Regions from separate parts of the Homo sapiens genome. Here region 2 is linked to region 1. The links are contacts of gene promoters, found by promoter capture Hi-C in human tissues and cell types (Jung and others, 2019). All regions are on one chromosome and are shown on one strand. The core of a region is centred on a gene start or on the middle of the fragment in contact, and the rest is flanking DNA. Distances in the headings are between cores, read along the strand shown.

Region 1 (2,862 bases), core at 63-2,562:
CGGAGGGAGAATCCAGTGGGAGGGAGGCAGACAGGCCTGAGGCCGCCCACGCCTCCCTCCTCCTCCCTGTCCACCCCAGAATTTGGGCTCTGCCCAGATGGACACGTCCAAGCTCATTGTCTTGGGCCTGAGACCCCAACACATTGCTAAGAGGCTCGGCCAGTTTCAACTTGAGCCCAAGGTGGAGGCGGGGGAGGGGGAGGGCAGAGAAATGGAGGAGAGAATGCTGATCCACGCGGAGGTGGTGGGGCCAGGGGGTGGGCAGCGACGGGAGCCTCTCCGCCACCCGAGGCAGGCGAGGCGGGCGCGTCCCCCCGAGCCGGGCGCCCCCAACCCGTCTTCCTTTGTAGTTACCGATTAGCCTGGGGTCCTGGGCATCCGTGTCCCCCGCGGCCGGACCTGCCCCGCCGGCCTGGCTTTGTGAAAATAACCAAAGCAATGGAGTCCGCAGGTGCAAACTTCCCCGACGGGGCCTGGGGAGGCTGAATGAATGGGGGTGGGGGGGCAGGGAGGGGTGCCGGCGTTCCCGAGGCTCCCCTGGCAAACGGGCAGGAAAGAGTGGGGTGAGGGAGGGAGGAAGGGGTGGGGGTCTGGGGGATGGAAGGGTGAGGGAGGGAGGGAGGGAGAGAGAGGGTGCTGTGGGGGGAAGGATGAGAGGTCGAGGGAGATGGGAGAGAAGAGAAAGGGAGAGAGAGAGGGAGAGAGAGAGGGAGAGAGAGAGGAGATGCCGGAAGGTGGGGAGGGAGGGAGAGGGGGCGGAGGAGGGGAGGGGGCCCGCTCGGATCTGTCAGCTGCACCCCCAGAGAGGGGAGGAGGGGTGGGTGGGAGGGAGGGGGTAAGAACCGATGCTCCGGCAGAGGCAGGCAGAGGAGGGAGGTGAGCAGAGGAGGGATGGTGATGGGGGAGAGAAGATGCCGGAAGGTGGGGTGGGAGGCGGAGGGAGGGGGAGAGGGGGGAGGGGGCCGGGCGCCCACCTTTGTGCATCCCCGTGTAGGGGTCTTTGAGCACCGTGAGCTCGTAGATGCGGCCGAACTGCTCGAAGAGCGGCTTGAGGTCCTTCTCGTCCAGGTGCCGCGGGATCTGGCCCACGAAGAGTTTGATGGCGTCCAGGTCCTTCATGCCGTCGGGCTGCCCCCCGGGGGGCTCGGGCCCGCTGCTGCCCACGGGCGAGGGCCGCGGCTGCAGGAGCTGCTGCTGCTGCCGGCGCGCCTCGCTCTCCGTCAGGCGGGCCATGGCGGGCGCGGGACCGAGCCGGCGGCGGCGGCGGCGGGCGGCGGGCGGACTCGCAGCTGGAGCGGCGGCCGCGCCTCCCGCCTCCCTCCCGGGCCCCCGCGCCCTCCTCCCGCCCGCGCCCGCCCCGGCATCGGGACCACAAAGGCGGCTCCGCAGCGGCCCCTGGCGGCCGCGCCGCGCGGGGCAGCCGGCGCCTCCCCGCATCCCCGGGCCGCGGGGGGAAACTGAGGCCGGAAGGCCCCGGGCCCCGCCTACGGGTGGGCGAGGGCGGAGCTGCGGGCGGGACGGGCCTTAGCCGGCTTCCCAGGGGTCCCCGCCGGCTCCCGCGGAGGGCATCGGCCGGAAGAATGTCAAAAGTTGCTGGGATAATGTAGGGGGCTTGTCGTTGAAAGCGCCCGTGATCCTTAAAGTAGGTAACTCATCAATAATATTAATAACACTAATAATATGGCTGGGCGCGGTGGCTCACGCCTGTCATCTCAGCACTTTGGGAGGCCGAGGTGGGTGGATCACTTGAGGTCAGGAGTTCGAGACCAGACTGGCTAACACGGTGAAACCCCGTCTCTACTAAAGAATACAAAAATTAGCTGGGCTCGGTGGCGGGGGGTGCCTGTAATCCCAGCTACTCGGGAGGCTGAGGCAGGATAATCACTTGAACCCAGGAGGCGGAGGTTGCAGTGAGCCAAGATTGTGCCATTGTACTCCAGCCTGGGCAACAAGAGCAAAACTCCGTCTTGGTAAAAAAAAAAAAAAAAAACACCTAATAATAACAACACTAATAATAATTAATCAAGAGCAAGACAAAGTGCTCCCACTAATCACGACAGCACAGGAGAAATGGTAAAAGTATCTTCCAGTTCTATAGGGTGCTTACACATAGAAAGTGTCCTTGGCCCTTTAAGTATGTAACTCATCAATAATGTCATCAACAAGGAGGGAGACTGGCTCGCACTGATAATGACAGGATAGGAGAAATACTGAAGTATCTCCCAGCTCTAAAGTGCCCGTGATCCTTTACGTATGAAACTCATCAATAATATTAATAAAAATAATAATACGTGCTGGCCGTGGTGGCTCACACCTGTAATCCCAGCACTTTGAGAAGCAGAGTCAGGAGGACCACTTGAGCCCAGGAGTTGGAGACCAGCCTGAGCAACATAGTGAGACGCCATTGCTGTAAAAAATAAGAAAACAGGCCAGGCACGATGGCTCACACCTGTAATCCCAGCACTTTGGGAGGCTGAGGCAGGTGGATCACCTGAGATCAGGAGTTCGAGACCAGCCTGATCAACATGGAGAAAACTCTGTCTCTACTAAAAACACAAAAATTAGCCAGGCATGGTTGTGCATGCCTGTAATCCCAGCTACTCAGGAGGCTGAGGCAGGAAAATCGCTTGAACCCGGGAGGCGGAGATTGCAGTGAGCCGAGATTGCGCCATTGCACTCCAGCCTGGGCAACAAGAGTGAAACTCTGTTTGAGAAAAAAAAAAAAAAAAATCAGCCAGGAGTGGTTGGTGTGCACCGTTGGTCCCAGCTACTCGGAGGCTGCGGTGGGAGCATCGGTTGATCCCTGGGATATTAAAGCTGCAGTGAACCAGGATCGCACCACTGCCTCTGGTCTAGGCGACA
Region 2 (3,016 bases), core at 200-2,699, 130 kb after region 1:
TGCTCTCAACGAGGACTCAGCGTGGCTCCCACCAGGACTCTAAGGAAGGGGGCGGGGGAGGCTGCCGAGATAGCTGCTTGGGACAACAAGCAAAGGCTCCCTCAGGTGTCAACCGCCCCACCCTCAGCTGAGCGGAACCCTGAGGAGAGGAAAGACTGTCTTTTTCCCACAGGGTGCATTCCAGCCAAGAGGAGTACGGGGTTTCCCGGAACAGGAAGGCAGGAGAATGGCCCTGAAGGGAATGTGGGGATAGGGGACACGGAGGAGTCTTCGGGGGGATGGGGGGGTGTACAGGGCCTGCATGGAGGGTACAGGGCCTGCATGGAGTGTACAGGGCTCTGCCTGGAGGGAAGGGTCAACGCGGGGCCCTGAGCAGTGAGGGGTGAGTGTGCCCTGTGGGTTACAGCCCAAAGGTCTGGCCCTGAAGGGGTAGCGAGGGGTGGGTACTCCGGTGGGGTAAGGTCAGAAGGTCCCTGTGCAGGGAGGGACTGGTCCCTTGAGAAGGAACAGAGGGCAAATCCTGAAGAGTCCTGGAGGCCCAATGTAGACAGCAGAAGCTGGGAGCTGACCTAGGAGTGATCGGGGGCCTGATCCAGACAGGACAGACACAGGCTGACACCGGAGAGTCCCAGGTGCCAACATGAACAGTTAAGGCAGGGGCTGACCCCAAAGAAATCAGGGGCCCGCAGCTGACCCCGGAGGGTCCCAGGTGCCGACCTAGACAGCAAAGGCAGGGCTGACCCCAGAGGGTCCCGAGCCGACCCAGACGACACAGGCAGGGCTGATCCCGGAGGGCCCCGCCCCGACCCGGACAGGCAGTGAAGGCACAGGCAGGGCTGACACTCGAGGGTCCCGCGACCCGGACAGGCAGGGAAGGCACAGGCAGGGCTGACCCCGGAGGGTCTCGCGACCCGGACGGCACAGGCAGGGCTGACCCCGGAGGGTCCCGGCCCGACCCGGACAGGCAGGGCAGGCACAGGCAGGGCAGGGCCCGCAGCCGGCAGGCCCGGGGGCCGCACTCACCGAGCAGCAGCAGCTTGAGCTCGCGCCGGGCGTCGCGCTTGTCCCGCCGCAGCTGCTTCTCGATCTCGGCGTTGATCCGCTTGGACTCCTTCACCTCATCGCTCAGGCAACACGCCATCATGGACTCCAGAGTCATCGTCCCGGCCCCGGCCGACGCGGCCGCCTGCCCGCCGCCGCCCCCCGGCCCCCGGCCCGGCCCTGGCCGGAGCCGCCTCGGCCGCCGCCCGCCGCGGCCCTCCGGCCTCGGCCACCGGCCCTCGGCCCCGGGCCGGCCCGCCCCGCCTCGGCCGCCGCCTGGCGAGCCGCCGGGTCCCCGCTCGGGCCGCGCCAGCCGCGGACTCCCGCGCGGCCGCACTCAGCCCGCGCCGCCGCCGCAGCCACCGCCAACCGCAGCCGCCGCAACCGAGCGACAGCGCCGGACAACCTAGCAGGCTGGGAGCGCAGCCCGCGACGGGCAGACGGTGCGGCCAATGGGAGGGGCCGGCGGCCAAGCGCGCCCACCATGGGGGCGGGACTAGCGGCCTGGGCGGGGCGTCGGCGGGCGCGAAAGGGGCGGGGCGGGGCGAGGGCGGGGGGCCCGCGGGTTTGGTTGCGCCGACGTGGGAAGGGGGACGCGCAGCCGGGAGCCGGGGCGGGGCCGCCCGGGATTGTGGGAATGTGGCGGACTCGGCCCGGCCAGGCTCGGCTCCGCTCGGCTCCGTTCGGCCCCGCTCGGTCCCGCTCGGCTCGGCCCAGGCGCGGTGGCGGAGGCGCGCACGCGGCCGCTGCGCTCTCTGGGTCTCCAGGTGCCTGGGCAGCAGTCGCTGCCCCCGGGAAGCGCCCTGACATTGCCTGACAGGAACCTTCACTCATCCATTAAAAAGCGTTAATGGAGGTCGGGCGCGGTGGCTCACGCCTGTAATCCCAGCACTTTGGAAGGCCGAGGCGGGCGGATCACCTGAGGTCTGGAGTTCGAGACCAGCCTGACCAACAGGGAGAAACGCCGTCTCTACTAAAACTACAAAATTAGCCCGGCGTGGTGGTGCACGCCCGTAATCCCAGCTACTCGGGAGGCTGAGGCAGGAGAATCACTTGAACCCAGGAGGCGGAGGTTGCAGTGAGCCGAGATCACGCCATTGCACTCCAGCCTGGGCAACAAGAACGAAACTCCGTCTCCAAAGAAAAAAAAAAAAAAAGAGGGCCGGGCGCGGTGGCTCACGCCTGTAATCCCAGCACTTTGGGAGGCCGAGGCGGGTGGATCACGAGGTCAGGAGATCGAGACTATCCTGGCTGACACGGTGAAACCCCGTCTCTACTAAAAATACAAAAAATTAGCCGGGCGTGGTGGCGGGCGCCTGTAGTCCCAGCTACTCGGGAGGCTGAGGCAGGAGAATGGCGTGAACCCGGGAGACGGAACTTGCAGTGAGCTGAGATCATGCCACTGCACTCCAGCCTGGGCGACAGAGCGAGACTCTGTCTCAAAAAAAAAAATTAAAAAGCGTTAATGGGACACCTACTGTGTATCAGGCATTAATGGGACACATTCTATATGCCAGGCACGGACCAGAGATTAATGGAGTGCCTGCTGTCCATCAGGTGTCAATCAGGCCTTACTGCAGTGCCTGCACCATTCCAGGCCAGGTATACGCATTCATGAAATGCCTACAGGATACCAGGCACTGCTGTAAGCCCGTTAAGCTAACCCTACCCAAGGGATATCTTTTTTTTCTTCTTCTTTTTTTGAGATGGAGTCTTGCTCTGTCGCCCAGGCTGGAGTGCAGGGGCGTGATCTAGGTTCATTGCACCCTCTGCCTCACAGGCTCTAGTGATTCTCCTGCCTCACCCTCCCAAGTAGCTGGGATTACAGGCGCGCCACCATGCCTGGCTAATTTTGTATTTTTAGTAGAGAGCGGGTTTCGCCACGTTGGCCAGGCTGGTCTCAAACTCCTGGCCTCTAGTGATCTGCCCTCCTCGGCCTCCCAAAGCGCTGGGATTATAGATGTGAGCCACCTCA

Evidence for each region. The method cuts DNA at HindIII sites, captures the fragments that hold promoters and counts their contacts. A contact is called where the count stands out against the background at its distance.
Region 2: a contact is called between the fragment with the promoter of GNA11 here and the fragment with the promoter of CELF5 in region 1, in 2 of the 25 tissues and cell types used here (pancreas and spleen).

The regions. Positions count from the first base shown.
Region 1 is chr19:3,223,111-3,225,972 of GRCh38, reverse strand. It overlaps CELF5 (CUGBP Elav-like family member 5), which reads right to left and starts at 1,312. Exons shown (of 13, transcript NM_021938.4): 1 at 975-1,312. The coding sequence starts at 1,233. RefSeq lists a silencer at 1,372-1,491. The HindIII fragment of the contact is 19,492 bases long and covers 1-2,862 here.
Region 2 is chr19:3,092,795-3,095,810 of GRCh38, reverse strand. GNA11 (G protein subunit alpha 11) reads right to left here and starts at 1,449. Exons shown (of 7, transcript NM_002067.5): 1 at 1,024-1,449. The coding sequence starts at 1,159. RefSeq lists enhancers at 1-656, 657-1,644 and silencers at 941-1,070, 1,391-1,510, 1,531-1,780. The HindIII fragment of the contact is 21,058 bases long and covers 1-3,016 here.